5 separate regions of the Homo sapiens genome follow, and regions 1, 2, 3 and 4 are each linked to region 5. Evidence: promoter capture Hi-C in human tissues and cell types (Jung and others, 2019). All regions are on one chromosome and are shown on one strand. Each heading gives the region's core, a stretch centred on a gene start or on the middle of the fragment in contact. The rest is flanking DNA. Distances are from core to core; before and after follow the strand shown.

Region 1 (5,500 bases), core at 1,699-4,198, 960 kb before region 5:
CCATCCATACTAAGGGATAATATTAGCACTGACCTAGAAATAGACAGGGAAGAGTGAGTGGTCGGATTTTTACTGGACTATTGTATACGTAAGTTGGAAAACGAAGGAAAGGTTTAAGAATTGGGGTATAGATCTTAGAGAGTCTTAAATGTAAAGCCGGCTGGGTGCAGTGGCTCATGCCTGTAATCCCAGCACTTTGGGGGCCAAGGCGGGAGGATCACTGGAGCCCAGGAGTTTGAGGCTACAGTGAGCTATGATCATGCCACTGCACTCCAGCTTGCACAACAACAACAAAAAGGTAGAGCCAAGCACTGGGAAGTGGTTGAAGATGTCTGAGCAAGAAGAACATGATAAGAACTATGCTGGAGAAAAGTTACTCCATATTTAGTATAGAGAAACTGTTGAAGAACCGGTTATGTGAGGATAGCTACCAAGAGCCATATGTAACCTCAAATAAACCAAATTTCCAGGACCATGGGTCAGGAAAAAATGCAGCTGATTTTTTCCCTCTGATTAACTGTTTGCCCAGAATGTGTGATTGCATAATGCAAGAATCAGCATCTTACCTAAGGTATATATTGACTCAAAAAAATATATATTCTGGTACATTAGAGACTGTGGCATCTAAGGAATGAGCTATAAGATCTTTACCACCCATGAAGGGCAAGTATAGCCTTCCTTTCAAGTCACCTCTAAAAGAGATGGAGATTGGATTATTGCTGCTGCTTCTGCTTCTTTTGTTTAGTTTTGTTTTTTTAATTACTGTTCCTTGCAGAGCAGGGCTAACCCATGGGCAGTGTGCCAAGAGTAGCCTGATTATTTCTTCTTCATCAAAAAAATTAAAGCCTAGAAATCAGTGTATTCTAAGGCTGGCGTGTGGGATGTGATTCTTGACCCTTCCATTTTTGATGGTAGAGACTAGGCTAACATCATAATTTAATATTGAACTTCATTTCCTGCAGTTTTTCCTGATATTTTTTTCCTACAAGTAATGTTTATGCCTTGGAGATAAAGAACAAACCAGTATCTTTCTCATAAATCAGAAATACAAATGTGCCTCCCTCCTGTCCTGGACACTAAATAATCCTAGGGTAGGTCCACGAAATTTGTGGATATACCAGAGTAGGAGACCTTTGGCAGTTATAGATTTACAGTACAGTAAGAAAGGTCAGAGTTACCGTGAAAGTTGTTTACATCATAAAAATGCACACTGCTGAATTTGACATTACACTCTCTTAATTTACCAAAAATCTGTTTTCTACCTGAGACCTATTAGTTCTTATATTTTTACTTTTAAAACCAGCATTAGTCATGGAGTGACTTGGTAAATCATCTTCTAGTAGGAAGTGATGTTTTAAATTAGTTCTTAAGCAAATTTTAACCTATAAATTAGATTTCCAGTGTTCATGTTTTTGATGAACTTACATTGGCAAAGTCTGAATCAGTGACTAAATGTTTAACCATGATTCTCATTTAAATATAAGTGATGAGTGTAATCCCAAGCTGTCATCACTCAGTGTCACCAGTCACCTTCAGTCTCATTATACTGAGAAGCAGAGAAGGTGCCAGACAGAAGAGTTGCTACATGTGAGGAGAGAGCCGGAAAGCCACACTGAAATGTGAGCTGAGTGGTTGGCCATGTTAACTGACTCCCTCCCCAGCCTTGGAGCACCCAAGTCAAGTCTCTGCTTTAGCAAACTTTAAACTACTGGATATTACAGCCTCCTGGGTGCATATAAGCAAGTATTACCTACTCTGTTCTCAAGAATATATAAAACATATCAAGATGGTGCTAGATGTTAAGCTCAGGCAAGCCAAAATCCTTTGGTACATTAAAAAAAATATTTTCTTGCAGCCTCTGTCTGACACCTTCTCTGCTTCTTCTCTGGCTCAGTATAACGGGACTGAAGACCTGGTGACATTGAGTTGTGACAGCTTGGTATTACACTCATCAGTTATATTTAAATGACTATGTATAATGGTTAAACCTTTAGTAACTGACTCAGACTTCACCAATAAAATTTCATTAAAAACATGGACAACATTTGGCAATCTAATTTATAGCATTAAAATGTACGTATTTCTCACCATTTTCCATTTAAGATGAGCGTCACAATCTCAGACAGTGTATTTCATGTTTTCCCGGGAAATGTCATGGCATCTTGGGTTCCAAGTTCTGATGGGCATAGTCCTGAGGTTTTTAGGTTTGCCTTCATGAGCTTTCCCATCTGGCTAGCCAGGGCATGTTGTCTGCAATGAAGAACCAGCATCAAATTCAATGATGAAGTAAATGAAGCTTATTTGGGGGACCTGCCTTACTTCCCTTGCCAACCCCCTGCTTCCTTACCTACAAAATAGTTTCACATATAGGACAGTCACCATTTGAATCCACCAGCTTCTGTTTTGTTAGCCTTTGTTTTGCTCTAGTTGCTGCTCACAGCCTTAATCTTGTTTTCTTTCTTTCTTTTCTTTCTTTCTTTTTTTTTTTTTTTTGCTGCTTCTTTCTCCCCTCACCAATTCTCTGCTCTTACCACGTCCTGATTCTGTAATTCTATTGTCCTCCTACCTTTCATTGCTTCTTTTGGAAATAGGAGGTGAAAAAGACATAAAAGAGAAAGGATTTTGAAAAAACAAATACGGTATAGACAAAGAAACGACCATGTCTTCGTTCTGCATGTATGGTACTGCCCACATGTGACCCTTTAAGTACACAGATTTTAAAATCTTTGGTGGCTAAGGTACCCAGTGCCGTTTGTACAAGGCTGTCTCTCTTTAAAATATTATACTTTTTGTCCATTGTCATAAGAAACTGATTTTCATCTCAATCTCTGTCAACACCATTATTTATATGAAGTGCTTCCATGTAAAGTAAACTCATGCCCCAAACCAATGTGTTAGAACCAATGACTAAGAACAAGTGAATGGATACTCTTGCTTTCCTAAAGATTTCCACAAGAACCTAATTTCCTTTTCTGTTTTTTTCCCCTTCCAGATTCTGTTTTAAATGACTTTATTATGATGCACTGTGTTTTTATGCCAAATACCCAGCTTTGCCCGGCACTGGTGGCCCAATATCCTTTTATTGTGATTGTAAGTCCCTATTCCCTCGAAGACAACCCCCCCTATCGAGGGCCATTCTTATCTCATCTTCTGCAGGTAAGTCATGGCCCAGGCAGAGTTGTGCATTCCACCCTCATCACACTGAAATGTGTTTTCCCACATTTCCCACAGTTTTCCCCTGTACAGACTCTAGCTCTGCCTGGCAGAGGTCTGCTGTGCCATGTTTAAGGATTTCCTCCTTGTTACCTGTATTGGGCCATTCTTTCATTGCTATAAAGAAATACCCGAGGCTGGGTAATTTATAAGAAAAGAGGTTTAATTGACTGGCAGTTCTGCTAGGAAGTATCGTGCCAGCCTCTGTTTCTGGGGAGGACTTGGGGAAGTTACAATTGTGGCTGAAGGTGAAGGGGGAGCAGGAGCGAGGTGGGGGAGGTGGCAAACACTTTTAAACGACCAGATCTCATGAGAATTCACTATCTCAAGGACAGCACCAAGACACGAGGGGTCCACCCCCATGAACCAAACACCTCCCACCAGGCCCACCTCCAGCATTGAGGATTACATTTCAACATGAGATATGGGCAGGGACAAACATCCAAACTGTACCATTATCTGTGCAGAGAAGTGTGAACCAGCTTACCACAGGAAGGTGATGCTGGCAAAAAAAAAAAAAAAAAAAAAATCCATTGCCTGGGAGGCAGGCTAGAAAGGGTTATGGAGAAGAACCTGGGAGTATTAGCAGGAATGGTTCCCTAACCTCAGAGACAGACTGTTCCCTGGCAGGGTGGACTGTGGTCGGCTTGTGTTCCTCCTCCGAGCTATGGTATTAAATTGCTAAGCTGCTGAGATAAATACAAGTTATCACTGTAGGATAACTTTCTTTTCCCATTCATCCTCGTCTATCCTCTCCTCTAGATACCAAAATTTCTTTCTTTGTTACTACTTTTTATTATCATCTTACTGACTTAAAGACCCAAAATTTGAAACTCCAGTGACAATTCCTCTCTATAGCTTGAAGGCCAAGTTTATTTGGGACAGCTTTTCAACAGTGTTTGGAATGGCCCAGTTGATGCTGGTATGTAGCACAGAGCAAACATTCTCAGAAAATGGGAGTGGAATAAAAGAAGTGGGTATTATTAATAAGCTTCACACTCAATTTTGGGAGCATGTGAAAGTATATTCTAAGATTTTGTTTTATTTTTAGAACAACAAAAATTTAGACCCCAAATCACTTTGGCCCTTTTGAGCAGTTAAATATATTGAAGGAGAATGACTCTTTTATTCTTTCTTTTTTTTTTTTTTTAGGAATTCAGTGAATGTTGGCATGTTTTCCTCATTCAAGATTATAATTACCCTACCTGATTCTCATTTTCTTGTTCACTCATAATTCTCTTTGAAGTAAACAATGTATGAGGACAGGAGATTTGAGTTGAAGGTGCAACTCAGAGGCAGCTTCAAGAGGGAGATTTGTGTGTTTATTTGCCTGGAAACTGTTTTACCGAGTAATGATGGCTTAATGAGACTTACATACATTATATATTTTTTCTGGCACATACTCAATTTTTCTCGAGTAAAATGAACAAATTCAGGATGTCTGTGCTCTTTTAACTCCATACGCACTAATCATTATAGACCTTTGAGATTTGCTGGAAGGAAAAATAAAATCCACCATTGAGTTTAGACTTGGTTTTTTTTAGCAGATAAGCCTAAGGCAAACAAAACTCAAGGGCGAGTCAGCGAGTTCAGCGGGCCAAGGCCCGGCATCTTTACAAGTCCAAGCCCCAAACACTGCGCTTGTCTTTTTTTTTTTCAGATTCTAACTTCTTCGTGTATTAGCTTGTTCCCCTTCAAGGGTTGACTGAGAACATTCAAATCACTAACTTCTCTTTTTAAAATAGCGCTCTGGAGAGAAGGTCCGTTCCATGCCCAGGTAGGGAGGAGGGGGAAAAATGATACTGGCGGGCAGGGAGAGGGGAAGGCAAGAAAGCAAACAGGCGTGGAAGAGCTGTGACGTCAAATCTGACTTCTTTTGTCTGTAGACGGGGGAATCCAGGGTGACTGGGTATAATCTGTATTATCTAGGTCCCTCAGACCACCTGGCTCATATCTGGCCCTGTGGGAACTTAGATTCTCTTCACTGTTCTATTTTGAATCAGCTCTGTCTGTGTCAGGTGCATGCTAAGAGCATTGACCAATATTATACCACTCTATCCTGGCAGGATTCTATTGGGTTAGTATTAGCTTTGTGTTACAAATCAGGGTCCTGAAGTTACCCCCAGCCCCCACAAAAAAACAAAAAAGGAGTGGCTTGCCCAGGGCAAATAGCTGAGTTCTCCAGATGATTCCAAACCTGGAGTTTGCCTTTTTTTTTTCTCTCTCTCTCTTCACAACTTATTTATTTGAAAGCTTGTTTAAATTTTAATGATTCTGTAACCTTTAA
Region 2 (5,482 bases), core at 2,403-4,902, 800 kb before region 5:
AAAAAATTGGTGAGGACCTTAGAGATCAGGGTCCGTGGAGTAGTTATATGCTTAAATACCACACACACTAGAGGACTTGAAGGAGTAATTGACATTCATGGGCAAAAGAAGTGTACCTTGTGTCAGTGCCACATCACATGCAGAAGCATGGACCCCGCTGAGACACAATCTTGCTGCTAGGTGGAGGGAAGTAGCTGTTGACAATCAGAGAGAAAAGCCTGTTCTGAGTATAAGATGTAAGTGGAACCTGCCAGCCTTATGATGTGGGGCTTCATAAACGATTGCTTTCATTCTATACCCATCAACAGGTTGTTGTTGGTATCTTTGCTTTCTTTCACAAAAATAAGTGAACTCAATTTTATTTTTACAATATTTATCACAAATACATATAGAGTACATAAATGGAATACAAAAGGTGTAAAACAAGCTTTTTAACTTTTAGGTTTAGGGGTACGTGTGCAGGTTTGTAACATGGGTAAATTGTGTGTCATGGGCAGTTAGTTGTACAGATTATTTTATCACCCAGGTAATAAGCATAGTACCCTATAGGTAGTTTTTCAATCCTCACCCTCCTCCCACCCTCCACCTTCAAGTAGATCCCTGTGTCTATTGTTTCCTACTTTGTGTCCATGTGTACTTAGTGTTTAGCTCCTACTTTTAAGTGAGAATATGTTGTATCTGGTTTTCTGTTCCTGCCTTTGCTCACTTAGGATAATGGCCTCCAGCTCCATCCATGTTTCTGCAAAGGACATAATCTTGTTCTTTTTTATGGCTGCATAATATTCCTAGCTCCATCCATGTTACTGCAAATGACACAATCTTGTTCTTTTTTATGGCTGCATGGTATTCCTAGCTCCATCCATGTTTCTGCAAAGGACATGATCTTGTTCTTTTTTATGGCTGCATAGTATTCCATGGTATGTATGTACCACATTTTCTTTATCCAGTCTACCTTTGATGGGCATTTAGGTTGATTCCATGTCTTTGCTATTGTGAATAGTGCTGGGACGAACATGTGTCTTTATGGTAGAATGATTTATATTCCCTTGGGTTTCCCCCATTATATTCCATTACCCAGTAATGGAATGTAAGTATGGAATATAAGTAATAGAATTGCTGGATTGAATGCTAGTTCTGTTTTAAGTTCTTTGAGAAATCTCCAAACTGCCTTTCATAATGGCTAAACTAATTTACATTCCCACCAGCAGTGTATGAGCATTCCCTTTTCTGTACAACTTTACCAGCATCTGTTATTTCTTGACTTTTTTTTTTTTTTCTGAGACGGAGTCTAGCTCTGTCGCGAGGCTGGAGTGCAGTGGTGCAATCTCGGCTCACTGCAACCTCCGCCTCCCAGGTTTAAACGATTCTCCTGCCTCAGCCTCTGGAGTAGCTGGGATTACAGGTGTGTGCCACCATGCCCAGCTAATTGTTGTATTTTTAGCAGAAACAGGTTTTCACCATGTTGGCCAGGCTGGTCTCCAACTCCTGCCCTTGTGATCTGCCCGCCTCGGCCTCCCAAAGTGCTGGGATTTTTTAATAATAGCCATTCTAACTGGTGTGAGATGGTATCTCATTGTGGTTTTGATTTCCATTTCTCTAATGATTAGAGATGTTGGGCATTTTTCCATATGCTTGTTGGCCGCATGTATGTCTTCTTTTGAAAAGTGTCTATGCATGTTCTTTGCCTACTTTTTAATGGGGTTGTTTTTTGCTTGTAAACTTTTTTAAGTTCCTTATAGATTCTGGACATTAGACCTGTGTGAGATGCATAGTTTGCAAATATTTTCTCCCATTCTGTAGACTGTTTACTCTGTTGACAGTTTCTTTTGCTGTGCACAAGCTCTTCAGTTTAATTAGTCCCATTTGTCGATGTTTGCAAAACAAGCTTTAAAGACACAGAATCTTTTAAGGAGTCTATGGCAGCTCTCCAAAATTAAATAAACAAAATAAAATTTGGGATTAGGTTGAAAAAAAGTTTTGAATTGAAGGAAAAGAGTCCTTCTGAAGATGGAGATATTTTTTAACTGTTGGAAATACTTCAAAGGAAGATAATTAAAACTATGATATTTAACTTCTTTTAATATCTCTGAATCAGTCGTTTGGAACCTGTGTGTTAGTCGATGTCTGGAAACATGGCAAACTGAGCTAATGGCTCGTTTTCCCCTGTAAACTTATAGAAATGCCGATAAAACAAACAACAAAATACTCACGACCTCCCAGGTTAATCAACAAACTAAAACTTCTGTAATTTTTCTGATAAAGGAAAGAGGAAAGGAGAAAGGAACTGGCCCCAGCTGGAAACAATAAGAGCAGGCAAACAATAATCTGTAGAGACATTTTGGTACCCTAATAGGACATGACTATTAGACATTTTTATGAATAGACCTTGATTCCTCCGTTTATATCTCAGATTGGGGCCCTTTATTTTATGGAGAATCTTAGAGCCTGAGTTAAAATTGGCACTTTGGGAGGCCAAGGCAGGTGGATCATCTGAGATCAGGAGTTCGAGACCAGCCTGGCCAACATGGTGAAACCCTGTCTCTACTGAAAAAAAAAAAATACAAAAATTAGCTGGGTGTAGTGGTGCGTGCCTGTAATTCCAGGTACTCAGGAGGCTGAGGCAGGAGAATTGCTTGAACCTGGGATGCAGATGTTGCAGTGAGTGGAGATTGCACCACTGTACTCCAGCCTGGGCGACAGAGTGAGACTCTGTCTAAAAATGTATATATATTGTTGCAGTCTGTCCCAGTCTTTTCTTAGATCCTCCAAGTCCTAGTTTGGAAAATTACATGTTTATCTTATGGATACTTAGACCGTAGTTTGTATAACTTTAAGATGACTATTGAATACATAGACTCTGATCACTCATCTCTGCAAAAATTTAGAATACCATTTTTTAAACTTTTGTATTGTGGTAAAATATGCATAGCATAAAATTTGCTATTTCAGCGTAATTAAGTGTATAATTCAGTGGATTTATTTGTTTATTTAGACAGGGTCTCACTCTGTTGCCCAGGCTGGAATGCAGTGGCACAGTCACAACTCACTGCAGCTTTGACCTCCTGGGCTCAAGCCATCCTACTGCCTCAGCCTCCTGAGTAGCTGGGACCACAGGCATGTGCCAGAACACCTGGCTAATTTTTTATTTTTAGTAGAGACAAGGTCTCACTATGTTGCCCAAGCTGATCTCAAACTCCTGAGTTCAAGTGCTTCTCTTCTCCTGCCTCAGCCTCCCAAAATGCTAGGATTACAGGCATGAGTCCCCGTGCCTGGCCAGTGGCATTTATTATAGTCACAGTGTTGTGCACCCATCACCACTGTCTGTTTACAAAAATTTTCATCACCCCAAACAGAAACGCTGTACCCATTAAGCAATAACTCCTCATTTTCTCCTCCCATCAGCCCCTGGTTACAACCTCTAATCTGCTTTCTTTATTGCTGAATGTGTCTGTTCAAGATAGTTCATATAAGTAGAATCATACAGTATCTGCCCTTTTGTGCCTGGCATATTTTACTTAGCGTAATATTTTCAAGGCCCATTCATGATGCAGTGCATATCCAAACTTAATTCCTATTTACAGCAGAAATAATGTTTCATTGTTTTTATATATAGCCTCACATTTTATCTGTCAGTTGATAAACACTTTGGTTGTTTTTACCTTTTGTTTATTGTGAATAATGCTGCTTTGGACATTGGGTCCAAGTATCTGTTTGACTCCCTAGAAAAGCATTTTGCACACTGAGAAATGTGTAGATCTTTTATATAGAAAATTTTAGTCTTCCAGATTTCACATGTTGACTGAAATTATTTCTGTGTAACTTAAATATACATAAACATAAAACTAAGAATTAACTCCTTATAACTCTCATATACAGGTAAATTCAAAACCAATTTTTCAATTAAACAAAAATAAAATCAATACAGTTTAAATTAACGATTGTTATCCAATTATATTTACTGAAAATAAATGGCTTATGTTGGTTTTAATAGTGTAAAAAGATATACTTTTGTATGATGGACCATTATTTTAGCTTTCATCATTTTCATGTTTTCCTTTTAACAGTGAACACGTTTTTAAACCACTAATCCATTATTTTGATGCGCAGCTCATTTGCTAGATTATCCCAGAATATAAATCTGGAAAACAAAGGAAAAACAGCAATTCAGTGACAAATTATTTACTACACATTTATTGCAACAGTTTTTCTGTTTTTTTTTTTTTTTTTTTTGAGACGGAGTCTCGCTCTTTCGCCCAGGCTGGACTGCAGTGGCGCTATCTTGGCTCACTGCAAGCTCCGCCTCCCGGGTTCACGCCATTCTCCTGCCTCAACCTCCCGAGTAGCTGGGACTACAGGCGCCCGCTACCACGCCCGGCTAATTTTTTTTTGTATTTTTAGTAGAGACGGGGTTTCACCATATTAGCCAGGATGGTCTCGACCTCCTGACCTCGTGATCCACCCGCCTCGGCCTCCCAAAGTGCTGGGATTACAGGCGTGAGCCACTGCGCCCGGCCAACAGTTTTTTTTTTAATGAGCTCTTGCAAGCAGGTGCCTATAAAGGCAAAATCCAGAGAGTATATCTGCTTGCTGTCAGAGGGTGATTGCAACAACACAGGTTTTAATAATTTGGTTAACCTCACACTTGTTTTTATTGGAGCTTATTTGAATTGCTGACATCATGATGTCATTTGACCTTCATTTATTACAAACATATCACTTACTTATTCAGTCTGCCTCTGTTTACTGTTGGCCCATTTCCATGAAATCAGTACAGCACTCTAAAATAACATGTTGTTTTTATTATGTTAAATCAGATTCTTAGTTTATTATATAAGAACCTAAAATCTTATTTCATGAAAATGTCATTTACTTGGAAATAAAACTGCAAATTTTTTTGCAAAAAATATGAGCACAACAAGGGGATAGAGGATAATGATTGTTATTTTGACATTAGCATTTGCCAGCCTAACAGCTGTTAGACATGCTTACCGGCACCTGAAATGATCAATCCTATCTCCTCAAGATATCACTTGGCAATATCTTAAATATAAACATGGAAACTAGCTGGCACACTGAAAATCCCATCATGCTGCATTGTAAAGTGGTCATCCAAGGACTCAGAATATACTTGTATTTATTCTTTATTGATAGAAAAATCTTTAATGATCACAAAATTCAGGTGCCCCAAAGAATATTCCGAAGGATAACACTGCCTCAGTTTGACAAATACTGGTTCAAACATTAACTCTATTGCTTTACTCACATTGAACTTTAATGCTTTATTCACAAACAGTTGGTCCTACCACTTAAAATGGGGGCTTTGTGATTTCCAAACTGCACATACATTCTATTTTTACAAAAAACTTTATTTATTATTTCTAATAATAATAAATAAACTTTATTTCTAATAATAATAAATAAACTTTATTATTATTTATTATTATAGTAAGAAGTAGGGTTGCCATGTGGATGAATAGTTGTG
Region 3 (5,507 bases), core at 1,365-3,864, 620 kb before region 5:
GCTATATTGCCTTTATGCATCCTGAAAGCAGGCACTGGAGACGTAAATCTGTAATTAGGGGTTATTTAAAACAGAGATTTGTGACCTGACAGACTGCAAACTGTCTATATCCACAAACACAGTGAAATTGCTCCAGCCCTTTGTCTCCAGGGGTATCTGGTCTATTGAAGGTCTCTGGTTTACAGGGGCGCTTGGGTTCATGTTATACCGCCTGAGAGATGGGTGCATGGGACCGAGAGCAGCACATGAAACATTAGCATTGTTTCTAAATCTCATCTAAAAATGATACATGCTATTAGCGGTTGCATTCTTTGTCCGAAAACCAGTCATTCTGAGTTGAAGTTTAACTTACCTCATTATGTAAGTGCTCTGAACCTCACAGTCAAGTTTCAAACTTAATAATAGGAAATGGAATTCTTTGTGCAAGGTGAATAAAAGGTATAGAGAAACACAGAATTCTTAGGGTTTGTAGTAGCCCAGGGAATTCAAAGCTCTTTAACAAGAGATTGATATTTTAGAATATTTTGAAGATTTAAAATTCCAGGGCTGGGGATGGTGGCTCATGCTTGTAATCCCAGCACTTTGAGGGGCCAGGGCAGGCGGATTGCTTGAGCCCAGGAGTTCGAGACCAGTCTGAGCAACATGACGAAACCCCCATCTCTACAAAAAATAGAAAAATTAGCCAGATGTGGTGGCCTACATCTGTGGCCCCAGCTACTTGGGAGGCTGATGTAGGTGGATTGCTGGAGCGCAGGAAGTTGAGGCTGCAGTGAGCCATGGCTTGAGCACTGCACTCCAGCCTGAGTGAGAGTGAGACCCTGTCTCAAAAAAGAAAAAATGTAAAAATAAAATAAAATTCCACCTACAACCACTTTAGTTGGAAAAATAGCTAATGCATGCAGGACTTAATACTTAGGTGATGGGTTGCTAGGTGCAGCAAACCACCCATGGCACAGATTTTCCTGTGTAACAAACCTGCACATCACATCCTGCACATTTACCCTGGAACTTAAAAAATAATTAAATTAAATTATACAAATAATACTTATAAATATAATAAGTATTTACTGAGTACCTGTTGTATTAACAGCCCTCATATCAAGTAGTGTCTGTGTAAGTATGTACTTATAAAATGTCATTTCCTTTTACCTTTTGCTGTGGCCTGTGCCATCATCTTTCCCTGGACACTGATTTTCCATGCTTATTCATTTTGTGTCTTTCATTTAAAATGAAAATATTTACCAGTGTGTGATTAATACAGTGACTTAAAACCTTTATGAGGCATCTAAAATTGCATGACAAACTTGCATTCCTATTTATAGGACCCTGTAAAGGAACTGTATATTTAACACAATAAATATATTGATATTGATTGTCAGAACAAACTCTCCAAAACTTAAATATTTTAAAATTATTAAATGTTTCAGATTAAAAAAAAAAAAGAAAAAAAAAAGCACAGAAAGTAAACATGTAAAAGACACCCATGTACTAATCACTGGCATTTGTCACATTTAACAATTTGCCATATTTGCTTCCCATGGTTTTTATTTTTCAAGAAAGCATTGTTAAAGCACTGACCTTAGACAAATTAAATTTAGCAGTTTAATGGAGCAAAGAATGTTTGCAAATCGGGGATCCCCTGAACCAGAGTAGGTTCAGAGAGGCTCCAGAGCAGCTGCATGGTGGAAAAAGATTTATGGACAGAAAAAGTGAGGTACAGAAAACAGAAGTGAATTACACCAACAGCTGGATTGGTTACAGCTCAGGGTTTGCCTTATTTGAACACAGCTTGAACAGTTGGTCACCCTTGACTGGCCAAAACATGGTGGTTGGTACAAGAGTAAGTTAGTCTGTTTATATACCCAGTTGGGTTACAGTTCATTGTGTATGGAGAAGCTTTAGGCTGAACTTAAAATATGTAAGGAGGCGGCTTTAGGCTAAACTTAATTTAACAGCATTAATGATAGCTGGGTGCAGTTATGTACACCCATAGTCCCAGCTATGTGGGAGGCTGAAGTGGGAGGATCACTTGAGGCCAGAAGTTGGAGGCTGTAATGTGCTATGATCACACCACTGCACTCCAGCCTGGGCAACATAGCAAGACCCAGCCTTTTTTTAAAAAAAAAAAAAGAAAAAGAAAAGAAGAAAGCATTAATAATAGAATCAAAGGACCCACCCTTGCCTCTTTCCTCCATCTTTTCCACCTTAAGTTAATTTCTGTGCTATTCTGCTTGTCTAGGTTTTTATACTCTCCCAACTTAGGTATGTTTTGTGTTTCTAAAATTTGCATAAAGGGTACACTTTACAGACACTTTTACTATTTGCTTTTTCATTGAACACTGTTAAGATTTCTCTACAATGATGCCAGTAAGCTATGCCATTAATTTGAACTACTGTTCAGATTCCATTGTACAAATACACCACTGTTCATGTATCCATTTCCCTTCTGAGGGGCATGTTGACTGCAGTATTTTACTATGATACATAATGCTAATATGAATGAACCATCCATCCCTCAAGTCCAGTTAGCTCTAACTTTTATAATAATCATATATCTTAAATCTGACTTCATCTGACCCCACAACTATCCCAGTCCAAGCCATCATTTGCTTCTCCAGGAGCCCATAGGTCTCCCAGCTTTCACTCTTGGCTCTCCTTCAGTTTACGACCCACACAGTTCATGGGGTCGGATTGGGTCTTTCTTTTTCTCAGAATCCTTCAATGACTTCCCATCATATCTGGAATAAATCCAAAGTTCTTCCCATGGCCAAGAAGGTCCCACATGATCTGGGCTCTCTCCCTCTTTGCCTGGCTTTCTGTAGTGTGCCTTGCTGTGCACTGCCTTACAGCCTTTGGGCCAGCTGTGTACTGTGCCTGAAACCAGCACTTTCCTCTTCTTCCTGTAGCTTCCTTCCTGACTTTGTTCATGTTCCTCCTCAGGTGTCACCTTCTCAGAGAAGCCTTTTCTGTTTCTCTTATTTAAATTTGTACCTCTTTCATTTTCTCTCCCCTTGTCCTGTCTTTAGCTTTCACCTTGCTTTTATTTTTCTTCACGGAAGTTAGCACACCTGAAACTATTTTTTTGTTGTTGTTTACTTCTGCTCTCCTACTAGAATGTAAACTCCTGGAATCACAAATTTCTCAATAGTATGTAGAATGATGAATCCGTTTCAGAAGGTTTTCAATGGACTCTGTTCAGATCCATCAGAGGAATCACTATCTATGGCAGCTACAGACTTATGAAATGTATTTCTTTTTTTTTTTTTTTTTTTGAGACGGAGTCTCACTCTGTTGCCCAGGCTGCAGTGCAGTGGTGCAATCTTGGCTTGCTGCGAGCTCTGCCTTCTGGGTTCACGCCATTCTCCTGCCTCAGCCTCCCGAGTAGCTGGGACTACAGGCGCCCACCACCACACCCTGCTAATTTTTTGTATTTTTAGTGGAGACAAGGTTTCACCATATTAGCCAGGATGCCCATGTCCTCAGGCATTATTTACTTGCTCCATCTCCTGACCTCATGATCTGCCCATCTCAGCCTACCAAAGTGTTGGGATTACAGGCATGAGCCACCGTGCCCAGCCATGAAATGTATTTCTTAAATAATAAGACTTTAAAGTCAAAATTACTCCCTGGTCCACGGACTGCAGAATGGATGCTGTGTTACCAGGCATGAAAACATTCATCAATCTCCATTAGAGCTCTTGGGTGAATAGGGGCACTGTCAATGAGCAGTAATATTTTGAAAAGAATCTTTTCTTCCGAGCAGGTCTCAAGAGTGGGCTTAAAATATTCAGCAAACTACGCTGTAAACAGATGTGCTCTCATTCAGGCTTTGTTGTTCTGTTTATAGAACACAGGCAGAATAGGTGTCGCATAATTCTTAAGGAATTAAGAACGTGGAATGGTAAATGATCAATGGCTTCAATTTAAGGTTACCAGCTGCATTCATCCCTAACAAGAGAGTCAGGCTGTCCTTTGAAGCTTTAAAGCCAGACATTGACTTCTCTCTAGCTATAAAAGTCCTGGATGGCATCTTCTTCCAACAGAAAGCTGTTTTGTTTACTTTGAATATCTTTTGTTTAGTGTAGCCACCTTCATTAATTAGCTTAGCTAGGTTTTCTGAATAATTTGCTACTTCACCTTGTACTTTCATGTAATAGAGATGGCTTTTTCTCTTAAACCTTGTGAATCTTAAACCTTGTGAATTGACCTCTGCTAGCTTTCAACTTTTCTTCTGCAGTTTCCTCATCTCTCTCAGCCTTCACAGAGTTTGAAGAGAGTTAGGGCTTTACTGTAGATTAGGTTTTAGCTTAAGGGAATGTTGTGGCTGGTTTGATCTTCTCTCCAGACCACTTAAATTTTCTCCCTATCAGCAATAAGCCTGTTTTGCTTTCTTATCGTTCGTGTGTTCTTTGGAGTAGCACTTTTAATTTCCTTCAGGAACTTTTCCTTTGCATTCACAACTTGGTTGTTTGGCACAAGACGTCTAGCTTTCTTCTTATCTCGGCTTTCAACATGCCTTCCTCACTAAGTGTAATCATTTCTAGCTTTTGATTTAAAGTGAGAGATATGTGACTCTTCTTTTCATTTCAATACTCAGAGACCATTGTGGAGTTATTAACTGGCCTAATTTCAATATTGTTCTATCTCAGTGAATAGGGGGGCATGAGGATAGAGAGACAGGATGGTTGGTCAGTGGAGCAATCAGAACACATACAACATTTATTGATGAAGTCTGCCATCTTATATGGGTACAATTTGTGACTCTCCAAAATTATTACAACAGTAATAGCAAAGATCAGATTGCAGATCACCATTATGGATATAAAAATAATGAAAAAGGTGAAATATTGCAAGAATTACCAAAACGTTACACAGAGACACTAAATGAACATGCGCTTTTGGAAAAATGGCACTGATAAGCTTGCTATACTTAGGGTTGCCACAAACCTTTAATTTTAAGCATAGTGCAATAAAATGAGGTACGCCTCTATTCCCAAATTGCTCTGCAAAGTTAAAAATTTACACTACTAACATCATTGTGGGAGTTTCTCATATTCTTAACAATATCTGGTCTTATCAGGCGCTTTAAATTTTGCCAGTCTGAGTGAAATTGTATCTCCTGTGTCAGAGGCATTTGAACTACAGCAACTCCATCTTGAATAGGAGCTGGGCAAAATAAGCCTTGAGACCTGCTGGGCTGCATTCCCAGGAGGTTAAGGCATTCTATGTTACAGGAAGAGGTAGGAGGTCAGCACACGACACAGGTCATAAAGACCTTGCTGATAAAACAGGCTGCAGTAAAGAAGCCAGCCAAAACCAAGATGGCGAGGAGAGTGACCTCTGGTTGTCTTCACTGCTACACTCCCACCAGCGCCATGACAGTTTACAAATGCCATGGCAACATCAGGAAGCTACCCTATATGGCCTAAAAAGGGGAGCCATGAATAATCCACCCCTTGTTTAGCATACAATCAAGAAATAACCATAAAAATGGGCAACCAGCAGCC
Region 4 (5,419 bases), core at 181-2,680, 780 kb before region 5:
ACTGCTGTGTCAAAGTATGCAGTCATATATTTTTAGTCTTCTATTTTTAGGTGGCTTTGTGCACTATCAATTTTGAATTTTGTTCTTGTTGCATCTGAATTGCGTGGTGTGAATTGTTGATGCCAGTCATGCCTGTATTACCTGGAGTAGTGCCCAGAAATGAGCCACATGATTGGAAGTTTGGAAAGTAAAGGCTCTCTTTTTCTTCTTTCTCTTCTTCTGTACTTTCTAAAGCTTATTTATGGCCCTGTATCTTATAATTTGGAGGGTGAGCATTTTAAAATAACTTGCAGGATTAGACATTACCTTCAAGTAGGAGTGGTAACAGAATGCTTCTTCTGTTACATCACTTCAGAGTTATCTGAGAAAGGCAGTAGCATTATAGCACTAGCTAAAGTAAACATCAGAGTTTGCCACTTTTCTGAATACCCTCCAATCAATTAATTATTTACATGCTTTCTAAATGCTCCTTCTCAGTAAGGAGGAAGCGAACTATCTATTTTTAGGAGATCTTTAATTAAAACGAGTATATGCTAATAGTGTGATCCTTAGAATGGGTGGTGATGACAAGTAGTGGAAGAGAACCAGGGAATGAATCGATCAGGTACCCTTGCACGTGCCTCAGGACTGTGAGGTTTGTGTGTGTGAGTGTGTGTGTGTTTAGCAGGGGGTGAAGGGATGGGGGCGGGGAGGGAAGTTATCAGCACCTGCCACTTATCAGTAGTCCAGGTTGGACCACCAATTTAACCCTGTCTGATTGTCCTTTCCTCTTCTAGGTTATCATGTATTCTTTGGTTCTTCTTAGACTTAAGCTTCCTGGAACTAAGCACTTTTGATATATGGTCAGCTAACAGGAAGTCATTAGGAAATAATCTAGGCTGTAGTAGAAAAGATCAGAGTTTTATGAATTTGTAAATTTTCAGTTCATGCTCAGAATTTCAATTTAACTATGTTATTTGACTTCAGTATATCTTAAATCTTCTACAAAAGAGGAATGATTAACTAAATTATGGATTTTTCCCTGCTATCATTATGAAGACTATATAACAATGGAGAGTGTCCCCATTTTAAAAAGTTACAGTTATATGTATTATAGTTACTAAATAGGAACACACATACACTGATATTGAAAGAATATAGACCTAACTTATAGCAATTCTTTTTCCCTTGGAAAGGTAACCAGAGTTTCACTTTCTATGTTATGTATTTTTATAATGGCAGTTTTTCTAGTGAGCACTTGTTAATCTTATAATGAGAAAGCTGAATATAAAATTAATAATATTTACATTTCTATTTGTAAAAGTTTGTAGCTTATTACTTATAGTACCAGGTTTACCCTGAGGCTATTTTCAAATATTAGATCATACAAAGATCATTTTCCCTCCTTGGTAAAATCATCAGTAACTAGTAAGTATTGATCATCTATCATGTTCAAGGCACTGCACGGTTTACAAAAGAAACATCTGAAACAGTTCTTCAGAACTTTATCCTTGGACTCATCTCCTCTTATGCTCTGAGTCTTGCACTCCCATAAAAGCCCTATTTACATATTAACACTCAAAAACAGATCTCAACTTCAAAACTATTTTTCTATCTGCTGATTAGACACATCCACATAGATATTTTTTAAGACACTAAAATATATTATGTCCAAATTAATCTTTTCATTTTCTCCCTAACCCCGAAAAATCATCCCTGCATTTCTTTTACTGAGTGGCAATACTGTTTGCCCAAGCCAGAAATGAGATAAATAGTAGTTACAGTTTAAAGCCAGAGCTCCTATTCTAACCATTAATCTGTATTGCTTCTTTATCTGATTTTATCCTTGAGTTCGCTTCCTTCTCCCCCAATATCCAGCCATTCATTAAGCCTAGGTGATCCTACATCCTAAATATTTTTTGACTCGGTCAACTTTTCTCCTGTCCTTTGCCACTGCCTTAGTACAGATGTCCTCATCTGTCTCCTGGACCACAAAACCTTGAGTGCCAAGTGATGCCCTTGCCTCCAGGTCTATTCTTCTCTGACATAGTCTCCCCTCTGCACCTTTGCTCATTTCATCCCTCCACATAAAATTGTTCATTGGCTTTCTCTTTCTCTTCTTGACCTGGCACCTACCTTCCAAAATTGCCATACATTTTTTGTCTGCTCCTGAGTTTTTGCATAGGCTCTCTCTTCTGCCTAGGAAACTACTTTCCTCCCTCAGCTCTCCTCTTCCTGGTTAACTCCTGTGTTTTTCAGGTTTTAGCATAAGCATCATTTCTTACAGGAAACTTCATCTGACCGCCCTCGACACAGATATCATTGTTCTTTGGCTCTATAGTATTGTTTCTCTCATCATGGAATCTATCCCAGTTTGTTGTAGATGTTTATTTAATTGTCTCTCTGATAAGAATATAAACCCCCTGAGAGCAAAGACAGTGGCAGACTTGCTTACAGTCCTGTTCCACAGCATTATACATGGCGTTACCCACAGTAGCCTCAGCAAATATTTATTAAATGAATGAATGTATGAACAAGTGAATGAATGAATATTCTCTCCACCTTTAACAAAAATCACTCAGTTGGGAGGAAACCATATATATAATATGAAGTAGTAAAGCTAATGACTACCTCAGTATCACATTGGCAGTACATGGGCAGAACCCAGGTAAAAATTTGGTTCTCCTAACTACTACTAATTTGTGCCTTTCTTACTGGACAGTACTGCATTTGGATAAAACAAGTGTCTCAGAAGCCTTTTTAATCAGTACCTAATGGAATTAAGTTTTTGTTTTAATGTCAGCCCCCTTTTGCAAAATCCTCAATGCTGTAAATACATTGATTTCACCTTTCATAATCCCATATTGAAGACAGAAATAGAAGTTTATGGTTTTTTTCAGTAGAAGACAGCTCAAACAAATTAGATGATTGTCATAATTTATCCTTTTTTCTTTTTTTAGTTGTTATAGCTGCTGATGGAGTATTGAAGGTAGGACTATTTCTTTTACTTAAAAAAATTGTTAATTTCAGATGTAGATTTTTGTAACTGATAATCCCTTAATTAGCCAATAAGTAGAAAGTTGACACTGATTCCTGTTTTCTCAGATCTGTGACTTTGGTGCCTCTCGGTTCCATAACCATACAACACACATGTCCTTGGTTGGAACTTTCCCATGGATGGCTCCAGAAGTTATCCAGAGTCTCCCTGTGTCAGAAACTTGTGACACATATTCCTATGGTGTGGTGAGTTCATTTCTCATTTCTTGTTTACTAAGGGAAATACAAAAAGCAAACACTCAAAAGAAGAGAGATACAGTTTAACATGGTTTTATTTTTATTTGAGACTGTACTGCTGGTGGAATGCCTAAAGCAGCACCATTGGAGAACGCTTCCTAGTTGCCAAAATGTTTAATCATTTTTAATCATCGGAGTTATTTTGTCCTGTGTTGAGAAGAAACCAACACCACTTCCAAGAAACAAATTAAATGGAATCCGAGATAGTGTTGGGCTCCGCTTTGCCTGTGAGAATGATTTTTTGCAGGGTGGTAATGTGACTGTGGACTCTCTCTGTAATTTCAATGGAAATGTGGATCATTTGGAACAGGACTTCATTGTAATGGATTGCTTAAACAGTATAAAATCACCAATAGATCTGCCAAGCGAGTTAATTACCAGGAAACTTTTGAGTCTCAACTATTAAACTGATTCATCGGTTTCTAAAAGTCCAAAAGAAAATGTACTTAGCACTTACCAGATGACCTTGTCCATGTCTGCTGCCAGTCTTAGAGTAGCAGTGACTATCTGAAGCGTGACTCTAAGGCATTACATAAGAATCACAGCAGAGCCACATAGAGAATAGACTAATGAGGGGGTGGAGTGCTCAAGGAAGAGACCACAGGAATGAATCCGTTAAGGAGCAGAAGCTCCTGGAGGAGGAATTTGGAGATGGGCCATTTCCTGAGGAATAGGTTATACCTGCATTATCAGAGAGAAGGAAGTGGAGTGGGAGAGTTCTTTGCTGGAGGAAGGAATTCATTTGTTGCCTTTTGTTGAGGATAAACTTTTCCCTAAAATGTTACGTATTCTTTAAAAAGTCCAAAATAGTTTTGGAATTCCCTGTCTTTACATCTCATACTGCCCTGCTATTTATACTATTATACTGCCCTGCTGTTTATACTATTACTTCCTAAAAGGGCATTTTCATAGTAATGGGTAAAGAAGCAGCCTGTTTTAGGTCCAAATCAGCCTGTCTCTTCGTCCTGAACTTCTGTGTTTTCTTACTGCAGGTGGTAGCCAATGACACAAGAGGAGATTCACGTTGTCAGACCTGTTTTGTTTTGTTTTGTTTTCTTTATTCGGTCTCTAGGTATTTAATGCTGGCTTCACAGGTTTTGGACTTGTTTCAGTGACTAGCTTTTTGTAAATCATAACACATCCTATGTATACCAAATTAATAAAGATTAATTTTGTTAGCTATTGAAAAAATCATTTCAAGAATGAAATATGTTTTTGACCGAAGGCTAGAATTTTAAAGGTCAGAAGGCAAGAGTAACATCAGGCTTAATACCTGATATCCAAAAAAAGAAAAAAAATCAATACCTGATATCCCTTGATTCTGGTTTCTTAAGAATGAAGACTATAAGCTATTACAGTGATCAAATATTTCTCATAAGTTTCAGAGGAGACTAGCTTATAAAACTGGTCTCCTATGTCAAATGTTACTACATTCTAACCATCATACATTCATCTGTGGGATATTCTGAAAATGGGGTATTTGTAGCAATTTAAGACTCTTTGTAAGATTGTTTTCTCTTGTGAAAGTGCATTCCTTCATTTATAACCAAACGTTTATTTACTGAGGCACACACCACCTGAGAGTAATTTAAATTTTTCTTAGCCTGCTTGTTGGGAACGGCCTCTCGTTTTGTCCTGTTGAAATAGGAACAAGCAAACTTTTTCTAGAAAGGACCAGATAATATATATTTTTGGCTTTGAGGGCCACTTACAGTCTCTGTTGCATAGTCTTCATAGATGCCATAGTTGGCTTTTTGTTTCTTACAACCCATCAAACATGAAAAAGCCACTCTGTATTCTGCAGCAGGCCATCGTTGCGGGCACCTCCCTGGAACAAGAGGGCTTGGGAAGATGAGCAGCGTGGTTTAGGAACGTGGCTTGACCGTTCAGAGTGGCTCACCAGGAGCCCACTGCTCCCACTCCTTTAATGTGCATGTGTATATAAATGTATATAAACATGTTTGTTGGTGTTAGGTATATATGTATGTTGGTTATAGTTATTGTAGACTGTTACAGCTTTTAAATTGTTTGTCACATTTATATGAACTAGAAGACTTTTGAGGTTCATTTTTGCACTTATGAGTCCACACACATACAGTGCTTTTACTTTTAAAATTCTCCCCAAGTGTTTGAATTTCCTTATCTC
Region 5 (5,894 bases), core at 2,719-5,218:
GTGTATATTTCCACTTGTTTAAACACAACAATATATATGCAATGTGGAATCCTGGACTGGATCCCAGAAGAGAAAATGGACATTAGTGGAAAAGCTGGTGAAACGCAAACAAAGTCTGGTTAGTAATGTCATACCAATGTTCATGTCTTAATTTGGACAAATGTATCATCATTATCCTAACATTAGGGGAAGCTGGATGAAGGGTATGAGATTACTCAGTTCTGTATTTCCAACTTTTCTATAAATTTAAAATTATTCCAAAATACAATTATTTAAAAACACAGCTATAACCTCTCATAATTCCCAGTCATTTGAGTAATAAAAGATTATCTAAGCCCATGAACTCATGTGAATTTCCTTTTCTAAGATGTGCTGAAAAGATGTCTTAAGTTCATATTTGCACTGGAAAAATAAATTTTTAGCAAATTTTCTATTTGCTAAGGCAAATACACACAAGCCAGTCTTACCAATTTTACTCAAAGTGAAAAATCTTGGGTGCAGGTACCAGACATCATAAATATATGGTTTGGGTTTTTTTTTTTTTTTTTTTTTTTTTAGGCAAAACTATTTTCATTTTACTATGATTGGCAAATTATGATGTATTTGATTGATAAATCTCAGATTTATCAGATTGATTCTAGTTCGTCTTCATGTGGCAGAATATGTGTTGTCAGGAGTGATTTGGTAATTCAGAAAAGCAGCTGAAGAAGCATGGAAACTTCCCTACAAGTATATGGCCACAGCTGGCTAAGGTTGGAGACAGTATTCTATCCTTGGGCCTCAGACTCACATATGTATGTACATACACATATTATTCACCCATATTTCCTTCCTTCTCCCCTCCCCCATCTGTAAACTGATATCTAAACTTTACAAATTACAGTTACAAGAAAAGTTTTGTTCCATTTGAAATACAAAAAAGATCAGGAGAAGCAATCTGCTTTTTAATTTTACTTATGCAGTAGTTTTTTAAGATACAGTCAATTTGTTTTGGCACTTTGGAACTAGAGGGATACAGTTCATAAAAAAATCTACCAACTCTCAGCGAAGCTGAAATGAGGTGAACAGAAGGCGTACCAATCCATAAATGTATTTAAAAATAACAAAGCCTAATATAATTTTACATTTTTACATGTTAATCTGCTTATGAAAAAACAAGACATTAAAACTATTCACATCCCCTATAACGAAGCACTAAAATTACAAATTATTTACCAGTAATAGCTTAACATTGGTTTAACTTAAAAAAAAAAAATACCTGGACATACTAAGCATTTGTTGTAGACTATACCAAATACCAAACTTCTGTCTTCAGTGACTATTGAAAGTATCACTCCACAAATCAATTCCTATGATCCACCACACACACACACTCAAATGAGGGTTTTCATTATTTTAATAGGTGAACAAATCTACACAACAGTGATGACCCAAATGTAAAATTCACAATTAACAGTCTAAAAACTGTTCCTATCCTATTGGTATTAACCCCTCATATAACACAGGCGAGCTCCTCCCCTTGCCCAGACACTGAAAACACTACAGAAAGAATCCCACCATATCTTACCTGACTAGCAGTCGTAATAAAATGAAAACATACTTTTGCCAACCAAATTCAGCTATAAGTATTGTACTACTAGTATGCACGTAAATACAATTCCTTACACATACTTTTCTAACACTGTTATATTCAGTTTCAAAATCTAAAGTACTATCTAAGCAACTTGCTGATTTCAAAGGCTGCTAAATGTTTCATTTACCCCCCTTACAAAAAAAAAGTCACTGCAAATTTTAGTAGTCTGCAAAAACTAAAATTCAACGATTTTGAATGGTCAACTAAAAAAGCAGTCTTCACTCCTGCATACAAAAGGGTAATTCAAAGAATAAACCCTCATTTTTTTTAATAATGTATGATTTAAAGCAGTAAGATCCTGTAACGTCCAACAGAAAATGCTCCAGGTTCAAAAATAATAAAAACTAAAGACATTGCCTCTAGTTGATACTATCTATGGCCGATAGGCTGTGCTTGAAAATTTTGTAGTGTTAAGCGAAGGAGTTTTCAGCACTGATATGAATTGCTCAAACATCCATTTTGGAGTCCTCTACCCCCGCCCTCTCAGACTTCATTTTGTGAAGATTTTGCGCGAGGTGCTGCAGTGACAATTTCGAGAAAGCCTGGGCTGGCTTCAGATCCAAACCGGGATGCGAAAGAGCAGGAAAGGGCGCCCTGGAGCCCAGCGGCCCGTGCGGGTCGGGGGAAGCGCGGGCGCCGGGGAGGCCTTTTGGGCAGGCGCGCCACGGGTCCGGGATGGCGGGCGCCCGGCCTCGGCGGGGGCGGGCCGCGCGCGGGACTTACCGCTCCGGCGGCGGCGGGGGCCCCGGCTGCGGCGGCCGCCTCCTCCTCGTCGTCGCCCGGCGATGGCGGCCCTATCTTGCTGCAGGTAGCGGCCAGCAGAGCGAGCGGTGACGGCTGAGTGTCCTACCCCCAATGGGCGGGTTCAGAGAGGGAGACAGGGGGAGGGGGTGGCGGTTAGGGTCGGGCCGCCTTTCGCACAGGAAGTACGACTCGGTCCCCGCCGACTGCGCCCGGGCAAGCGCCAGCCCGCGCTCTCCTCCTCCTCCTCCTCCTCCTCCTGGTCCCGCCGCCAGCCCACGCCTGGCGTCCCCCGCTCCAAGCACCCCGGCTCCCCGGTCCGCGGGCAGGCGGGCGGCGGGCTGCGCGCCGGGCCTCCGCCTTCCGCCCGGAACCCACCCCCGGGAGGGCACGCTGGGGCCCACACTCACACGCGCACAAAAAGGCGGCAGGCGGGCGAGGCGGGGCGGCGCGGGCGGGGTCGGAGCGTTGGCGCCTCGGGCGGGCAGCTCCCGGGGCGGGGGGAGGGGAGTGGAGGGGAGGGGAGAGACGAGGAGGGAGGGGTGAGGCGAGGAGGGAGGGGAGAGGCGAGGGGAGGAGAAAGCGGCGCGAGGGGGGAGCCGGGCCGGGGTTCAGCCGCTCCTCACCTGGGCCGCCGCTGCCGCCGCCACCGCACCGTTTCCGTGCTGTTGCTGCTGCTGCAGATACTCGCCGTGGCCGCCGCCGCCGCCACCGCCGCCGCCGCTATCCACGTCCAAGGCAGCCATTTCCTCTTGTTTCACGGGCTTTTCGGGAGCTGCAGGCACAGCGCGGGGGGGTGGGGGTGGGGAGGAAGGCGGGTGGCGGAGAGGGAGGGGGCCCGCGGGCCGAAGCGAAATTACTCCCAAAGCCCGGACCCAGGCCCCTTCCCCTCCCCCACCCGCCCCCCGGCGGCGGCGGCGGCGGCGGCTCCCTCCTCCCCTCCTGCTGCTGCCCCCGCCCGCCGCTGCCTGTAACCCTCCTCCTCCTCCTCTTTCCCTCCTCCTCCTCCTCCCCGCGCTGCCCCTGCCCCCTCTCCTCTCCTCCCCTTTCCCTTCGCGCCGCTCGCTCTCACTCGCGCTCGCTCCTCTCGCACCGTCAGTCACTCACACACGCCCGCCCGCGCCCGCACACAGGGGGATGCGCTCCCGGCGGACCGGGCCGCCCGCCCCGGGGCCTGGCGGGGAGACGGCGTTGCTGGGGCTTCGGGGGTGGACGGTGGCTGGCGGGGAGGGGAGGGAGGCGCAGGGGAGTGCAGCTTTCTGCCTCTCACAGACACTCGGTCGCACACACGGGGCCGAGACCGGCGGCAGCGGCCCCGGGCTGGCTGTGGTCGGCGGCAGCGGCGGCGGCGGCAGCAGCAAGGGTTGCTCTCTCGGCTTTACGTACCGGTCATAGTGTGTTTAGGGCACCTCAGGCGGGGCTCCCCGCCGCCTTACACATGGTGAGGAGCGAAGGCGGCGGCGGCGGGAGAGGATGCGGGAAGCGGCGGCGGACACGGCCGGAGCGGTCCGGGGATTTTTTTTTCCTATTTTGATTGACTGTGCGGGAAACACAAAAGGTGGAGCCTCCAGCCCAAAAGGGGGGAAGAGGGTGACAGCCCGCCCGGAACTCCCGCCCCTCTTCTTGGCTCTCATTCGCCGCCGTGCTCTTTGTCGGCTGTGCTCATTGGTCCAGGCGCCTGTCCGTCGGTCTGCCAGGCGGCGCGCTTCCTGTTTGCCCCCGGGTGGAAGGGGAGAGACAATGAGCGGCCGTGGCAGCGTAGGTTTTCGAGAGCGGCTACGGCTCGCCGGTTACCCCGCTGTGCCCGCCTCCCTCGCCGGCTGCCGCTGCCAGGCCCGAGGCGCAGGCCTCCTCCACCTTGCAGGCGCTCGGAGCAGGCCTAGCCAAGCTGTAGGGGAGCTGAGCTGGGGAGGAAATTCGTCCCCGGTGACTCCTGCTCCACTGGACGCTTCCTCCATCCCGGCAGCAGTCTTGGCCGGATCTCCCCAGGGCCTCGCGCTCTTGGAGCCGCCGCTTCCCTGCGCTGCCAGGAGGCCACCGCTGCTCAGCCCCGGGGCTGCTGCTGCGGCCGCTGCCGCTACTGAGCAAACCAGACCCGCCCCACGAGCCCGGGGGGAGGGAGCTGGTATTAGGGGAGACACCCCCTCCGAGGCTGGAGGAGGATTTTTCTCTCTCACATCCAGCTTCCTGATTCAGTCACAGCCATCTCGCTCCCAGCCCCCTTAGCCCCAGTTTTCCAACCGGTCTCCCACTTTCACGTACCCTGAAGGCAGGCATTTAAAGCAAAAAAGAAATCTCAAGTCACCTCACATACGGAAGGAGAGTTTTAATTTTGGCCAGTGGCACCAAAACGGGCACTTAAAAGTATATTTCATTTTACTTGTGGTATGTGTATGTATTCAGTGGGGCAGAATTCTGTGTTTTAAAAAATCGGTCACATAACCATTTTGCTGCACAAACGTATTATTCCCGGCCTCTTTATCCTCTTGGTACCAAGTCAGATATCTCCTGAAATAAGCCCATCAACCACTGCCAACGTTTTTTAAAGTCGTGAACCGGTGAACTACCTTTTTTCCCCCATTGGAACATTTTTGTTGTATTTTAAAATCTTGTTTCTCTTACTGGATTAGGTTAACACTCCTTCCTTCTTTGGCATCCTTGGTATCTTGCTGTCATCCTGGGGGAAAATGCTCAGGTTTTAAGTGTGTGTTTTGCCAACTAAGAGACATCTCTCCCTGTTACCTTCAAGTATAGTTGCCAAGAAAGAAGTTAAATTCAAGAGGTGGAAACACTGTCCACAATACCTGTTTTTTAGAAATCTGGCTCAAGATTCAGTTTTCCCATTACTGTGATTATTATATTTTGTGTGATATGTGATGTGCTGGTGGATGAGGTTGTGAAGTCCAAGCACTTTAACCAGATTTTGTGTGTCCTAACTTAATAGGTAATCCATTTGTGAGATACTGAGTTTACATCCCAGTTCCAAAGCACTTAACCGCCTATGCTGACAGGATCAGAAACATTGTATGGTTACTTTGCTCTTAATTGTACAAAGATCAAATTTCCAGGGAATTAACCTAAAAACCACAAACATGCGGAAACGAGACTCAAAATTCTGAGTCCAAGAATAGGGTTCATCTCTTCTAATAGTCCTTGTAGTCTCATATTTAAGTGGAAAAGTCACTTTCAAAGTTGAGTCGTATAACCTATGTACTATTTTACAACAAAAACTTTTAAGGAAATAAAAGTCACAAAATAACCTGATTTGGGGTGGGGAAAATGGAAAAAGAGATGGGTGCCTTGAAGAGCGGGACAGGTGAAAATAAGTGGACTGGGAGGGAGGAAGGGAAGTCACTATTATCACTCTGTTCCTACCCGGATCTCTTGGGTGGAAGGTAGCTCTTTCCCTAGAAAGGATATTTCAGGCATTTTCAGTTTTGTTTTGTTTTTTTTTTCAGGAGTGGGGATATGTTCTACGCTATCGCCATACCCTTTTTGCAAAGTGTTAGTCCAGCCACCT

The links. The method cuts DNA at HindIII sites, captures the fragments that hold promoters and counts their contacts. A contact is called where the count stands out against the background at its distance.
Region 1: a fragment that was not itself captured here is called in contact with the fragment with the promoter of SP3 in region 5 in 1 of the 25 tissues and cell types used here (psoas muscle).
Region 2: a contact is called between a fragment that was not itself captured here and the fragment with the promoter of SP3 in region 5, in 1 of the 25 tissues and cell types used here (aorta).
Region 3: a contact is called between a fragment that was not itself captured here and the fragment with the promoter of SP3 in region 5, in 1 of the 25 tissues and cell types used here (heart left ventricle).
Region 4: a contact is called between a fragment that was not itself captured here and the fragment with the promoter of SP3 in region 5, in 1 of the 25 tissues and cell types used here (H1 embryonic stem cells).

The regions. Positions count from the first base shown.
Region 1 is chr2:172,998,274-173,003,773 of GRCh38, forward strand. It overlaps RAPGEF4 (Rap guanine nucleotide exchange factor 4), which reads left to right. Exons shown (of 31, transcript NM_007023.4): 17 at 2,993-3,071. Among named protein-coding and RNA genes, the nearest start is that of MAP3K20, 75 kb to the right of the region's middle. The HindIII fragment of the contact is 3,773 bases long and covers 1,063-4,835 here.
Region 2 is chr2:173,162,701-173,168,182 of GRCh38, forward strand. All of the region lies in intron 2 of MAP3K20 (mitogen-activated protein kinase kinase kinase 20), which reads left to right. Among named protein-coding and RNA genes, the nearest start is that of MAP3K20, 90 kb to the left of the region's middle. The HindIII fragment of the contact is 4,993 bases long and covers 1,157-5,482 here.
Region 3 is chr2:173,347,704-173,353,210 of GRCh38, forward strand. No RefSeq gene overlaps it. Among named protein-coding and RNA genes, the nearest start is that of CDCA7, 4.4 kb to the right of the region's middle. The HindIII fragment of the contact is 3,669 bases long and covers 781-4,449 here.
Region 4 is chr2:173,187,956-173,193,374 of GRCh38, forward strand. It overlaps MAP3K20 (mitogen-activated protein kinase kinase kinase 20), which reads left to right. Exons shown (of 20, transcript NM_016653.3): 6 at 2,940-2,968; 7 at 3,085-3,222. Among named protein-coding and RNA genes, the nearest start is that of MAP3K20-AS1, 91 kb to the right of the region's middle. RefSeq lists an enhancer at 3,600-4,181. The HindIII fragment of the contact is 5,248 bases long and covers 1-4,054 here.
Region 5 is chr2:173,961,405-173,967,298 of GRCh38, forward strand. It overlaps SP3 (Sp3 transcription factor), which reads right to left and starts at 3,969. Exons shown (of 7, transcript NM_003111.5): 1 at 3,761-3,969; 2 at 3,001-3,149; 3 at 2,357-2,479. The coding sequence starts at 3,767. RefSeq lists enhancers at 1,660-2,483, 2,484-3,306 and silencers at 2,167-2,416, 2,547-3,036, 3,367-3,646, 4,147-4,216. The HindIII fragment of the contact is 28,349 bases long and covers 1-5,894 here.